Regions from separate parts of the Homo sapiens genome. Here regions 2, 3 and 4 are each linked to region 1. Evidence: promoter capture Hi-C in human tissues and cell types (Jung and others, 2019). All regions are on one chromosome and are shown on one strand. The core of a region is centred on a gene start or on the middle of the fragment in contact, and the rest is flanking DNA. Distances in the headings are between cores, read along the strand shown. Region 1 holds the start of PPIF (peptidylprolyl isomerase F). Region 2 has its middle 24 kb from the start of LINC00595. Region 3 has its middle 10 kb from the start of RPS24. Region 4 has its middle 42 kb from the start of LINC00856.

Region 1 (3,084 bases), core at 550-3,049:
TGGCAGGGCTGCCCCAGAGCACCCAATGGCTGAGCCACACATGGAGCTCCCATCTGTCAGGGGTCTCTGAGCCCCGACTCTTCTCATCACGCCACCCACCTTGCCCTGCCTGGCCCCCTTCCCTCTAGACCCATCTCAGAAGGCCCCAGGCCCTGTCTTACCAGCTGTCTTTGGGACGACATCTGCCTTCAGCTGTTGGGGGAGAAGAAGGACAAAAGAGGATGGTCATTGGAGAGGCAGGTGAAGGTGGGTGTCTCTCAGCACCCACCCACCCCCACAGTGGCCAAGGAGGCTAAGGAAGAAGCACGTGGACATTCCATTCCCATTATTGCCAACCCCCATGGGAGGCAGCTCTATCATTTCTGGGAGCCGTTTCCTGAACCCAAGGCTGGAGGAGGTGGCCTTGGTTTCCTAATCTGTCAGAAGAGATGACAATGCTATCTTGGCCTACTTCTGTGGACACAGCTGGCAGTGCTCCCACAGCTGGGCCCAAAGCATCAGAAATTCAGGGACAAGAGAGTGTGTCTAAGGTAGAAGCCAGACCAGCTCCTCCATTCGGGGTTGGGAAACTGAGGCCCAGGGAGAGGCATGAGGGTGTGGGGAGGGAAGGCTGAAGCCCCATCCCAGCCAGCCTCTACCCTCGAAGCTGCAAGACCCACCCTGGAACCAAATGGAAGCAGGAAGGGTGTCCCTATTTTCCAGAAGAAACTGAGAATGAAGAAGAAATACTAAGGGCTCCCTGGGATACGGGCCAGTCAACACAAACAGACCCCTGCTGTCAATGTGTGGCCGACCTGAAGGCTCCACTAGGGCTTTCCCTCTAAAGCTACCCTGGTGACTGTTTCTTACTTTGCTTTAGAAAAGACCCAAAAACAGAGTTAGGGGAGGTGCTCAGTGTGGCCCCCAAGGACAGTGGCAGGGGTTGAGGCGCCGGGCACACTGTCTCTGAGTGTGTCCCGACTCGCAGGAGGGGCATTCTGGGGTCCACCAGGTGGCCGGGGCCTGAGGCCTACTGGGCCCGCACTACTGCTGGAAACCACCTCTCGCTCCATTTCCCAGCACCCCCAGTGTGAGCCCGACCGCAGGGGCGGGGCCGGAGCCAGGAAGCGCTCCGTGTTGTGCAAGGGCCGCCACGTGAGCACCCGCTGGGCCACGACGCTCACCCCAAGACCCCCGACACCCACCTCGGAGCTCCGGATCTAGGCTCAGCCCCAGAAGGCTCCTGGAGCCCCTCCCTCGTGCCCGGGCCGGCCCAGAGGTGCTGAGCCCTCCCTCTCTGCGATCTGACCTTGAGCTTTCTCCTCCACACGTGCCCTCCCTCCCGTCTCCCCCGCTCCAGTGCTCCGAGGGAGGCCGGAAGAAATCATTCTGACGCCCATTCTCAGAAATGGGGAAACTGAGGCCCAGAGCTCGGCATGGGGAGGCCCAAGGTCACCCAGCGCGCCCGGCACCGCGCCGCCCGGGGCCCAGGGCTCTCCCCGGGCCCGTGTCCCGCGCCCAGGCCGGCCCTGCGAGCGGTCTCACCTCCAGCACCACGCGGCCGAGCGGCTTCCCGTTGGCGTCCACGTCCAGGTACACGAGCGGGTTCCCGGAGGAGGAGGAAGAGGACGGGTCGCCGGAGCCCTTGCTGCAGGCGCGGGCCGCGGGGAGGCGCAGCGGCACGGAGCGCGGGACGGAGAGCAGGCCGAGCCAGCGGGAGCCGCAGCGCAGCGCCAGCATCGCGGGCGCGGGTCGGGCGGGACACGGGCGGGGAGAACACAGAACTCAAACTGACGTCGCGCGCGCCCAGAAGGCCGAGTCCCGCGCAGCCGCGCGCCGCAGCCTTTATTGGCTTGCCCAGGTTCCCGGCCCTGCCCCCGTCCCGCCTCCTCCAGGCCTGTCCGTGGACTACCCCTGCCGGCCGCAGCGGGCAGCGCAGCCAGCCGGTGGGGCCGCGGAGCGTGAAGTGCTTTGAAACACTCCCGCCTCCAGGCCCAGAGACCCGGAGAACAGACACCTGGCAAAAGGTTGCTGGTTCCATGTTTATTAAGGTACCAGCAGATTTTTTTAAAAAAAGAAAAACTGCTAAAACGTAATTAATTCCAAAATATGAGCATCTATACGTTGCAATTTGAATATAATAGCAAAAGTCTACCTTTGAGCCCTTTGCAGGTAAGGCTCAGGCCAAATAAGCTTCCCTGCTGCCCTAGGTCCTGCAGTCTGAGAGGGTTAGAGAAAGGTGAGATGAGAGGCGGGATTAGTGAGCTAGAGGCGCAAGAGGGAGGAGATAAGCTGAGACACCTCCCATGATGCCCCCTAGCCTGCTTGTCCCGGCCTGGGCCTGTCTCTAGTTGTTTCTGGGGACCAGACCTGCTTCTAGCAAGACTGAAAACGCAGCCTGGGCTCATCATGCTCCTTTCAGGCCCCCAGCCCTCCCCAGGACTGGGTCTGATCCCTCCTCCTAGGACCCACACTGACAGCCCCGGGGCAGACTGCCAGCTGCCCCCTCCCATCAGCATGCACCCTGGGAGGGGACTCAGTGGGGAGACCCACAGCAGGAGCATTTAAACCCCACGTGCTGAAAGTGGGCTTCCCAGCAGCCAGAGCCACCCTCACTGCAAGGTGGTGGGAGGTCTGCAATAAATGGATGCCACGCAGGGACCTGAGAGAGCATCTGGCCCAACACTTGTACTGTCCCCAGGGGAAGCTGAGGCCTGGACACAGGAAGGCACTGGCTAGGGCTAGGGAGCCCTGGAGTATTGCTACCAGCTTGCACCAGTGCTCCAGGCCTCTCTGGGCCTCAGTTTCCCATCTGGAGGGTAAGGGTGCGATCATGCTCCTCATCCTGCTTTTTTCTCGTGTCTGTTCTTAGGATAAAATGAACGAGAGAGACATGGATTTGTCAACTAAGTACTGTGCCTGTGGGCATCTGTGATGGACAGAGTCTGGACTGTCTTTCTCACAGTTTGGGATTCAGAGAGCTGCGGTCTCAGTTAGAGGCCTGAGGGGTCAGAGAAAGGGGTGGGGCTGAGCCTTGGAGGCAGGTGGGCAGGAGTAGGGACCAGCTCTGGACTGACCTGCCCCAGATCCTGAATGGGCTCATGG
Region 2 (3,145 bases), core at 309-2,808, 1.1 Mb after region 1:
AGTCAGGCCAATCTACTCAGTGCCCCAGGATTGCAGGGGATTCTATAAGAAAGCACAGGGGACCATGGGCTGGGTGCTGAGCTTGGCCCTGCCAGGGCTTTCTAAAGGGAGCTTCCCCTCATCCCCTCTCCGTGGACAGAGCAGGACAAAGTGGCCCCCATTGCACCCTGGGGGCTGGCAAGGACCCTACAGCAGCCAGCAGCTGGGTCTATCAACCTGAGAGAGCCTCTGCCCCCAGGGAGGCTCCTAATTTAATCAGCTTCACAAATCAGCTCGATGGGCTTAATTGATCTTTTTCACTCCTAATATTGTCGCTGTCACTTTCTGAGTTGTGCCTCCCCCAGCCACCCCCTATGTCAGCCAGCTGGAGAGGGAAAAGGAGCCCAGAGGCCACAGTGGGAGGGAGCTGTGGACAAGAGGGTGAGGAGGGCAGGGAGAGTGAGGGAGGACTCAGACTGACACCTCAAGCCAGACTTTGGGGACTGCGAAATGCCATGGTGGGAGTGAAGAGCAGAAGGGCTTCTAGAGATTAACCTGGCTGGGGCATTAAGCGCATCATTCTAGGGCTCTCCGGGGCTCCACTTCCTCATCTATAAAGATCACAGCAGTACTCTGCCTCTCCAGATCCATTCAATCTCCATGCATTTGTTGAACACCTACTATATTCCAGACATGGTGCTAGCTAGACACAGGGAACGATGGTTAGCAAAAATAAACCTGTCCCAGACCCCATCGGGCACTCTAAGACAGGCTGTCCTCCCCTAGGTGACATCCCCATGGAGCACAGACTAGTGGGGGGTCTGCCATCAGTGGAATAAGTACTTGAGCACATGTCAAAGTGCAGCAGTGAGAAACGCTATAAAGGGGAAGTCCCTGGTGCTGTGTGGGTGGATACTGGGTGAGGGTCGGGGTGGGGAGGGCCAGGGAGGGCTCATGGAGGAAGCGGTGCCTGAGTTGAGATTGAAAGAATGAGGTCAGGCTGGGCGCAGTGGCTCACGCCTGTGATCCCAGCACTTTGAGGCCTAAGCAGGTGGATCACCTGAAGTCAGGAGTTTGAGACCAGCCTGGCCAACATGATGAAACCCTGTCTCTACTAAAAATATTTTTTAAAAATTAGCTGGGCATGGTGGCAGGTGCCTGTAATCCCAGCTACTGGGGAGGCTGAGGCGGGAGAATCACTTGAACCCGGTAGGCAGAGGTTGCAGTTAGCTGAGATCGTGCCATTGCACTCCAGCCTGGGCAACAAGAGTGAAACTCTTTCTCAAAAAAAAAAAAAAAGAAAGAAAAGAAAAAAAGAAAGAAAGAAAGAATGGTCAAGTTATCTAAATGAAGAGGCAGGAACAACATTCCAGGCAAAAGCCCTGTGTCTTTAACTAAAGCTGAAAGGGGCTTAAAGCTGACCATGTGGCTGTGAGCTAAGAGGAAAGGGGTGTGGGCTGCATGAGCTTAGATCAGGAGCTCCTATATGACTGAATTCCCACATTTTTTATGATGCCCTATGGTAAGAAACACATTTTGCTTGCTGACCCGGAACGTAGAACACACACATGTGCATACATGTGTAATTACCTGCATACATCCACTTCAAAAAGACTGATGAAGCAGTTATTCTTGCCACATTAAATGTGACCTCTCTGAGAGTTTCTATTCTATTTCTATTCTAGCTCATTCTATGTCTTTGCTTTAAGGTCACAAGCCATGACATTGATTTCTCAGCCCCCTGATAGCTCATGGCTGCTGGTTAAGAGGCCGTGTGCTTGGTAGGGTCTGGTGGGCTGCATTCAGGAACTATGTCCTTACCCCACAAGCAATGGGAAGCACCGGTTCTCTGAGACACTCTAATGAGACTTGCCTGCTGAGGTCACCCTGGCTGCTGCCAGGGGGAGTCATTTGGAGGGGCGGAAGGGGAGTCAGGGGACCAGGGAGGAGGCTGCTGCAGTAGCCAACCCAGAGATGGGGGCAGCTTAGAGCTAACTGGTTTGCAAAGCCATTCAGGTAACAGGTATGAAAAACTGTGCCAACTAGAACAATGTTTTATGAAAAGCTGCCCAATGGCACTGCAAGATTGCCATATCTAGATTCAGGCAACCCAGGTACCAAGACCAGCCGCATCATTTCCCACTTGTAATCTTGGAAAAATCACTTTGCCCCAGTGGGTCTCACTTTCCTAACTGTAAAATGTAATGTAAGAGTCCCTATCCCTTAGAGGCATTGCCGGATTAGATATAATGCAACGTGCTTGGCCAAATGTCTGGCCTGTAGCAAGCACTAGATAAATCTTAGTTATTAATATGGATGGACATGTTAGAACTCATTCAGTCTTCAACGGATTCAGTGCCCATTCAGTGCCAGGTGTGGAAGAGATGATGGGGAATAAAGTCACACAGCCCCTGTTCTGCATTCCTGGTCCAGGGGGCATTTCTAGAACCATAATAGATTTATTTTGGTCAAAACTGATTTTTAATCTGACAGCTGCCAAGCTCACCTGGCTATGCTCTCCCATTTACAAGGTGCTCTCTCATTACAACTGGCCCAGACCAGTTAAGGTTCCTTTTAAACAGGTTGCACCTTCATGCAAACACTTACCTAGTGCCTGTTGCCTGAGCTCAATTTATGCTTGCAGAGTAACGTGACCATTCTGGTGTATCTGGTTTGTCTATGCCATATCTCCTAAACATGCAGCGCTCCCTCTCCTCCTTCCCCTCAGAAGCTTCTGAGGGGCAGAGTTGTGGGGAGGCCAGAGCGACAGCAGGCTGTGCAGCCAGGAGCCGGCACAACAGAGCAGGCTGTCTGCTCCCTGCAAGCCAAGCTGGAGCTGGCAGATGGGGATCAGGGCTGGGACCTTCCTGACAATGATCATCGCCACTGCTGAGGCTCAGTAAAATGGCCAGGAGCAGGTGGGTGCAAGGTCTGTACTACCCACCCTTGGGTTGGGCTCTGGGCACCTCGTCCAGGTGCAGAGGGAAGGCTTGGCCTTCACCCCAGCACCCTCTCTGCCGCCACAGACTCACCAGCCCCAATTTCTGAGTCATGCGCTGATTGACCATTAGGGGACTGACTCTCTCGAGGTCTGCCGGGCTTCATTCAGCAAACTGTTTTCTCATCTCCTTGGCTGCTCTTCCTGGGAATAAGAGGGTTTGTGTGG
Region 3 (3,022 bases), core at 439-2,938, 1.3 Mb after region 1:
CATCCATGGCCCCAGCTGATTGTAAGCTGAGTGGAGATCAGGAACTGTGACTCCTGATTCCTGATCTGGTCCCTTTTTCCGAGTTATTAATACTTGGGGCCAGGCGCGGTGCCTCACGACGGTAATCCCAGCACTTTGGGAGGCGGGGTGGGCAGATCACCTGAGGTCAGGAGTTCAAGACCAGCCTGACCAACATGGAAAAACTCCGTCTCTACTACAAAATACAAAATTAGCCAGGTATGGTGGCACATGCCTGTAATCCCAGCTACTCGGGAAGCTGAGGCAGAGAATTGCTTGAACCCAGGAGGCGGAGGTTGCAGTGAGCTGAGGTCGTGCCATTGCACTCCAGCCGGGGCAACAAGAGTGAAACTCCATCTCAAAAAAATACGATAAATACTTGGATGCCATCTCATCGACCCATAACCTTCTACATAAATTCCCTCTCCAATATGCATGATGAGCAGCCAGAGCGTTGCCAAAGTATTTCCTGTGTGGAGGAACTCGGCATGTGAAAAGAACACACAATCCACTGCAGAACATCTAATTCTCCAACGTTTTATTTTCTTTAACCAAAACACTGAACAAGTGAAATCCTTAGCTTGGCATACAAGATCCTCCCTGATTTATTCTCCGCTGACCTCTCCAGCTTCGTTTCTTACCAGGACCTCACCTGTACCCTCTCATCCAGACTGTGGGCACTGGGAGGCAGGTCTCATTTCTGCCTCCCCTCAACATCTGGCATGCGGGAAGTTCAAGGGTGAGTGGATGGGGAAGGACAGTTGGATTAATGTATGGAGGTGTGTTCACAAAGCTCTAAAACCCAGGAGAGCCTCTCTGCCAGCACAAATGAGTCAGGTGTCATACTTCTGTGCTCTAGCAGCCAACCTGAAGACTATTTTTGAAATGGAGTATCTCCCACCAGAAATGCATTGTGCAAAACTCTGCTCAAAGGCATCAGTCATGTAGGGCCTTCCATCTTGTTGATTCAAGAGAATGCCTACCTACCCACTCTGCTCCCACCTCCCCAGTGTCATCCTCTCTTCCCCTTGCAGAATGACTGGTCTCACCTTGTCCCACACTGCCTGCTCCCATCTCCCTGCTTTCTTTCCTATTTTTCATGGCCTCAAATGAGAACTTTCTCCTGTGCATCCAAATCAGATCATGTCTCTTGCCACTGCTGGTGTTACAGTAATCCTCCCTTATCCATGGGGCAAACGTTCTTAGACCCCCAGTGGATGCCTGAAACCGCAAACCCTATCTACACCAAGTTTGTTGCTATATATACATAATTAAAGTTCATAATTTAGGGAGTAAGATATTAATAATTATACTGTAGTAGGCTGCATGAACTCTTTTCCTCTGAATACGTACATGTATTCACATTCTTGATGGGAGATAAAATGCCTATGTGGAAGGGAGAGGGAGGTAAATGACGTAGGCATGGTGACGTGTTAGGCTACTATTGACCTTCTGATGACACTTCAAGAGGATCATCACTTTTGGGTGATCCCAGACCATTTAGCCATGATAATTTTCCAGACTGCAGTTGACCGACAGCAACTGAAACTAGATAGGTGGGGACTGCTGTATGTCTCCTGGAAGCCTTCCAAGACCCAGCCTCCCTGCACTGATCTTCTTGGCTCTCAATTTCTATCACGTCACAGTCATACACTATCTGCTACTTCACAGAAAGGAACAGAAGCCAGATCATGGGATCGTCATTAACTACCTCAGAGCTTTCAAGACAGAACAGCTTCTTTATCCCCAACTTGCAGAACAGGGACACAGCAGGTGGTCAGTAAATTGGGAATTTGGCTAGCCATCTAACACTTGTTCAATAAACCCATGGCAACTGGCACCCTGCTGGCAGTCATGAGTTTTATATACCATTATATGCACAGTGCAAAGTAGCTTAATACTGGAGTGCCTGAAAAAATGCAGTGTTTTGGAGTCAGATGACTGCATTCCAATCCCATCCCCACCACTTCATGGGTGAGACACTGGTAAGATGCTTAACTGCTCTACACCCTTTCCAGCGTGGGTCCAGGAAGACATGCTTCTTGGAGTTAACATGCAGATTAGGCCGGGCACGGTGGCTCACACCTGTAATCCCAGCACTTTGGGAGGCCAAGGCAGGCGGATCACAAGGTCAGGAGATCGAGACCATCCTGGCTAACATGGTGAAACCCCATCTCTACTAAAAATACAAAAAATTACCCGGGCATGGTGGCGGGCACCTGTAGTCCCAGCTACTTGGGAGGCTGAGGCAGGAGAATGGCGTGAACCCGTGAGGCAGAGCTTGCAGTGAGCCAAGATTCTGCCACTGCACTCCAGCCTGGGTGACAGTGAGACTCCATCTCAAAAAAAATATGTGTGTATGTGTGTGCGCGCGCAGATTAATGGAGATCGTTGTTCAGAGTTTAGGACAGCACCTGTTTCGGCTCCATGAGAGCACCATGTAAGATGCTGTCTTTAAGGGCAGCCTAAAATAAGCAACTTGCCAGGGAAGAAAGGAAGAGTGCAGAGTTGAAAGCTGCCTGATTACATAGGCACATCCAGCTACAAACAGAACTCATGGTTGTGGTGCTAGGAAAAGCTAAAAAGCAGCACCCCAAATATTCACTGCAGGTACCTTCCCAGAACCACCTCTAGCTGAGTTTCTCATCACTCTTCAAAGATCCCTGCTCTCTCTAAGCCACAGCTTCCCATCAGTGACAAGCTGAAGGAAGGGATGTGCTCCCTCAATATTGATTCAGCTTAGTAAAGTCAAGTTTGCATTTTATGGAGGCTCTTCCAAAGCCTGCTGACAGCACAGGGTAGCCTGGTTACTGTGAGGGCCTACAATGTGCTGAATCTGTCCACAGTTTGAGTTCCCACAAGTCCCTGCTTCCTGACAAACAATTGCTTAGCACTAGTTTCCAAACTGTTTTCACAGTTGTTACATCCTCAGCCTCAAAATAGCCTTGTGAGCCAGGGTAGCTAGCAGATACCCTTGGGAGCCCAATTTAAAAGACAAATTAAC
Region 4 (2,991 bases), core at 257-2,756, 1.1 Mb after region 1:
AGTGGGTTCACCGCTCCCAGGACCAGGATGCCACTGGATTATGGGAGCTCATAAACACTTTCAGCAGTTCACTGTGACCCCTGACAGGCTTCTAGTTCTGCTTCCAAATAGTCAGAGCTTCCCAAACATTAGCATGTATTAGAATTACCCGGACAACCTTCTCGTACAGATTGCTGGGCCCTACCTCCAGATTCTGATTTAGCAAGTCTGGGCAGAGCCAGGGAATTGGCATTTCTAGCAAGCTCTTAGGTGATGCTGATGCTGCCAGCCCACAAACCTGGCTTTGAGTAGCACTGATGTCGGAGATCTATGTTATTACCACCATCGCCACCCCACCATTGCAGAGGAGGAAGCTGGGGCCCAGGGGGGCAGGAAGTAGGACAAACAGCATCAGCAGCACAACCTCCTGGGCCTTCCTCCCATGCCCACTCTGGGAGACCCATCCTTTCCCAAGACATTGCTGGCAGGCTCCAGACTCCCAGCAAGGAAGATGTGTGAGTCAGCCCATTTACCCAGTTTTTGTTCAATTAATTTCAAGAGGTATTAAAAAGGAAAACTTTCGTAAAGAAAGGAAAAGCCTGTTCATTTTCATGGCCAGCACTTGGAGAAACAGTTCTTCTGGAGCCTAGGCAATCGTTTGTAGAGTCTATTATAAAGGGAAACCTAAATCACATTTATGGCTCATACTGTAAGGCAAATGTAGGTATTAAAATTGTTCCTTTTAAATGATAAACACCCGCTGAAATGGTGCAATAGAGCTGCATCAGAGACTGTTTTCACCCAAAAGAAACTGACTCAGGAAAGGCAGTAAATAGGGAATTTGACTGCAGTCCCCATAACTGCTGTTTACTGTAAGGAGTGGGGAGGAGGGGCCATGGAGAAAAATTAGCGCGTGGAGACCATGTTTGTTTTTAGCCACTTTAGCAACTTAACTTTGCATGGCTCTGTCTTCTCCCAGATCTGAGTGCAACAATTTCTCCCCGAAAGGGACATGGCTCCTTGTGGGGTGGGTATTTTTGGTTTCTTCTAGCCTGGTTTCAGATAGCTGGGCTTTCGTTTTACTGTGCATATCACAATCGTTGTGGTTTTGCTTTTGAGAGAGAAGTAATAGAAAAAATAGTTAATCACCCATTCATAATCTCTTAAACATTATTTTTAAGCTGATAGTAGCAAAACAAAATGCAATCTTTCTAACATCTTCAAGCAATTACTTGTCATTTTTCTGGTTTTCATAATAAAAGGAAATTAGTTTGGGGGAGGTGGAGTGGGGGACAAACTCCTGACTTTGAGTTTTGGGAAGATGAAGAACAGACTTAGAGTAAATCCTACCCGGGTTTTCCTGATGAAAATGAAAGCAGGAGCCAAGCAAGGGCAAGGGGTGCAATTGGGGGATGGGGCTTCTCCTGGCCCTACCCCTGACAATATGATATAATTCAGAGCTGCCTCTGCCTGAAGAAATTTGGGGAACATACAGACCTCTCTCATCTACCCCAACAAAGCTCAATAAATGAAGAGTCACAGCCAGAGCCAAATTTAGGTCCTCTGAGCATCCGCCATGAGGGATGAATTCACCGTGAGGGGTGAATCTACGGATGGATGGATGGATGGGTGGGTGGATGGATGGATGGATGGATGGGTGGATGGGTGGATGGGTGGATGGGTGGATGGGTGGGTGGGTGGGTGGATGTGTGGATGGATGAGTGGGTAGATGGATGGGTGGGTGGGCGTATGGGTGGATGGGTGGGTGGGTGGGCATATGGGTGGATAGGTGGGTGGATGGGTGGATGGATGGATGAAAATAACCACTGTTTCTTGAGATTTCTTCCATGCTGAGTAAGACGTCTCAAAGTCTAAGTGTGGAAGAACCAGTTTGTTTCATTTCCAATCAGTTTATTTTCCAATTTGTTGGAAATGCTTTCATGAAATAAGCTAAAATGTCACCATCTTGTCAAGCTGCTGTACAAGTATTCTCACTCTCCATTTCTATTATGACCAGTCTGCGGATGGCACCAGTCCTGGGCCCCACTTGGAACAGAACTGTTCTCAGGCTGGCTGCTAGGCACATCACACACATTCATTCACCGTCTTGCAGTCACTCTCTCAGATGGGTGCTTTTATACCCACTTTCTGGATGGGAAACCTGAGGCTCAGGGAGAGTTTGTGAGTTGCCCAAATTCCAAAGCTGATGGCTATAGAGCTAAACTTTAAATTCAGATCTCTTGGGCTCCAAACCTGTATAGTTTCCTGATGCTGGGCTCTAGAACCAGTCTCAAAGGACATGTAGTGGAGGGATGCCCTCCCAGTTGGAACCTAGGGAGGGTTCCTCCAAGGCCTCGGGTCAGGAGCTAGGAGGGGAAGGAGATGCTTGGTGGAGGTCAGGCACCCAAAAAAACAGAAGCAGGAGTGCAGTGGGAGGTTCAGAGAGCCATGGGCCAAGCTAGAGCTGGGCAGGGAGAGGAGATGGAGGGAGCCTGGCCCTGTGGCTACTCTCTGGGGAAGCAGGGTGAGAAGCAGCCCTTGGCCCAGAGCAGAATGATGAGAAAAGTCGGCCACCCAGCTCTCTGCACCTTGATCTTCACTCTAGAGCCTGGGCTTCCCATTTTGTAGAGCAGTGACTGGCATTTTTTAAAAAATGTAAATCTGCCAGAAGACACTCCCATCAGGGTATTTCTTCCTTTAAAAGAGTTTAAGGGACTAGAGGGGTCAGAGCACTCTCATTTCCTGCTGAGCTGCTTCTGTGAAGCTTTGAACACCAAGGATGGAGGGCACAGGGCCGGATGTTCAGAGAGGCCCAGAATGAAAGGGAGGATCAGACAGGGCCATGCCAGCTGCCGTAGCTGGGCCTGGCCGTGCTCTCTGGGGCCGTGCTCTCTGGGGCAAGGCTCACTTGGAGGTACAGAGGCCTCAAACTAGGCCCACATACAGAATCAGGCCTGGGAAATGAGAGTTAACATCTCACTGTGTGTCCTAGGGACCACCTGCCCAGCTCTG

Evidence for each region. The method cuts DNA at HindIII sites, captures the fragments that hold promoters and counts their contacts. A contact is called where the count stands out against the background at its distance.
Region 2: a fragment that was not itself captured here is called in contact with the fragment with the promoter of PPIF in region 1 in 2 of the 25 tissues and cell types used here (H1 embryonic stem cells and heart right ventricle).
Region 3: a contact is called between a fragment that was not itself captured here and the fragment with the promoter of PPIF in region 1, in 1 of the 25 tissues and cell types used here (dorsolateral prefrontal cortex).
Region 4: a fragment that was not itself captured here is called in contact with the fragment with the promoter of PPIF in region 1 in 1 of the 25 tissues and cell types used here (dorsolateral prefrontal cortex).

Annotation. Positions count from the first base shown.
Region 1 is chr10:79,346,184-79,349,267 of GRCh38, reverse strand. PPIF (peptidylprolyl isomerase F) reads right to left here and starts at 1,799. Exons shown (of 6, transcript NM_005729.4): 1 at 1,525-1,799; 2 at 162-192. The coding sequence starts at 1,719. RefSeq lists an enhancer at 1-51, cis regulatory regions at 818-1,318, 1,001-1,501, 1,030-1,530, 1,533-2,055, 1,523-2,055 and 5 more and silencers at 1,366-1,595, 1,616-2,025. The HindIII fragment of the contact is 10,018 bases long and covers 1-2,821 here.
Region 2 is chr10:78,290,194-78,293,338 of GRCh38, reverse strand. No RefSeq gene overlaps it. Among named protein-coding and RNA genes, the nearest start is that of LINC00595, 24 kb to the right of the region's middle. RefSeq lists an enhancer at 1-675. The HindIII fragment of the contact is 9,221 bases long and covers 1-3,145 here.
Region 3 is chr10:78,042,362-78,045,383 of GRCh38, reverse strand. It overlaps a transcript of RPS24 not described here. Among named protein-coding and RNA genes, the nearest start is that of RPS24, 10 kb to the right of the region's middle. RefSeq lists an enhancer at 2,644-2,753. The HindIII fragment of the contact is 6,274 bases long and covers 1-3,022 here.
Region 4 is chr10:78,205,444-78,208,434 of GRCh38, reverse strand. No RefSeq gene overlaps it. Among named protein-coding and RNA genes, the nearest start is that of LINC00856, 42 kb to the left of the region's middle. The HindIII fragment of the contact is 8,951 bases long and covers 1-2,991 here.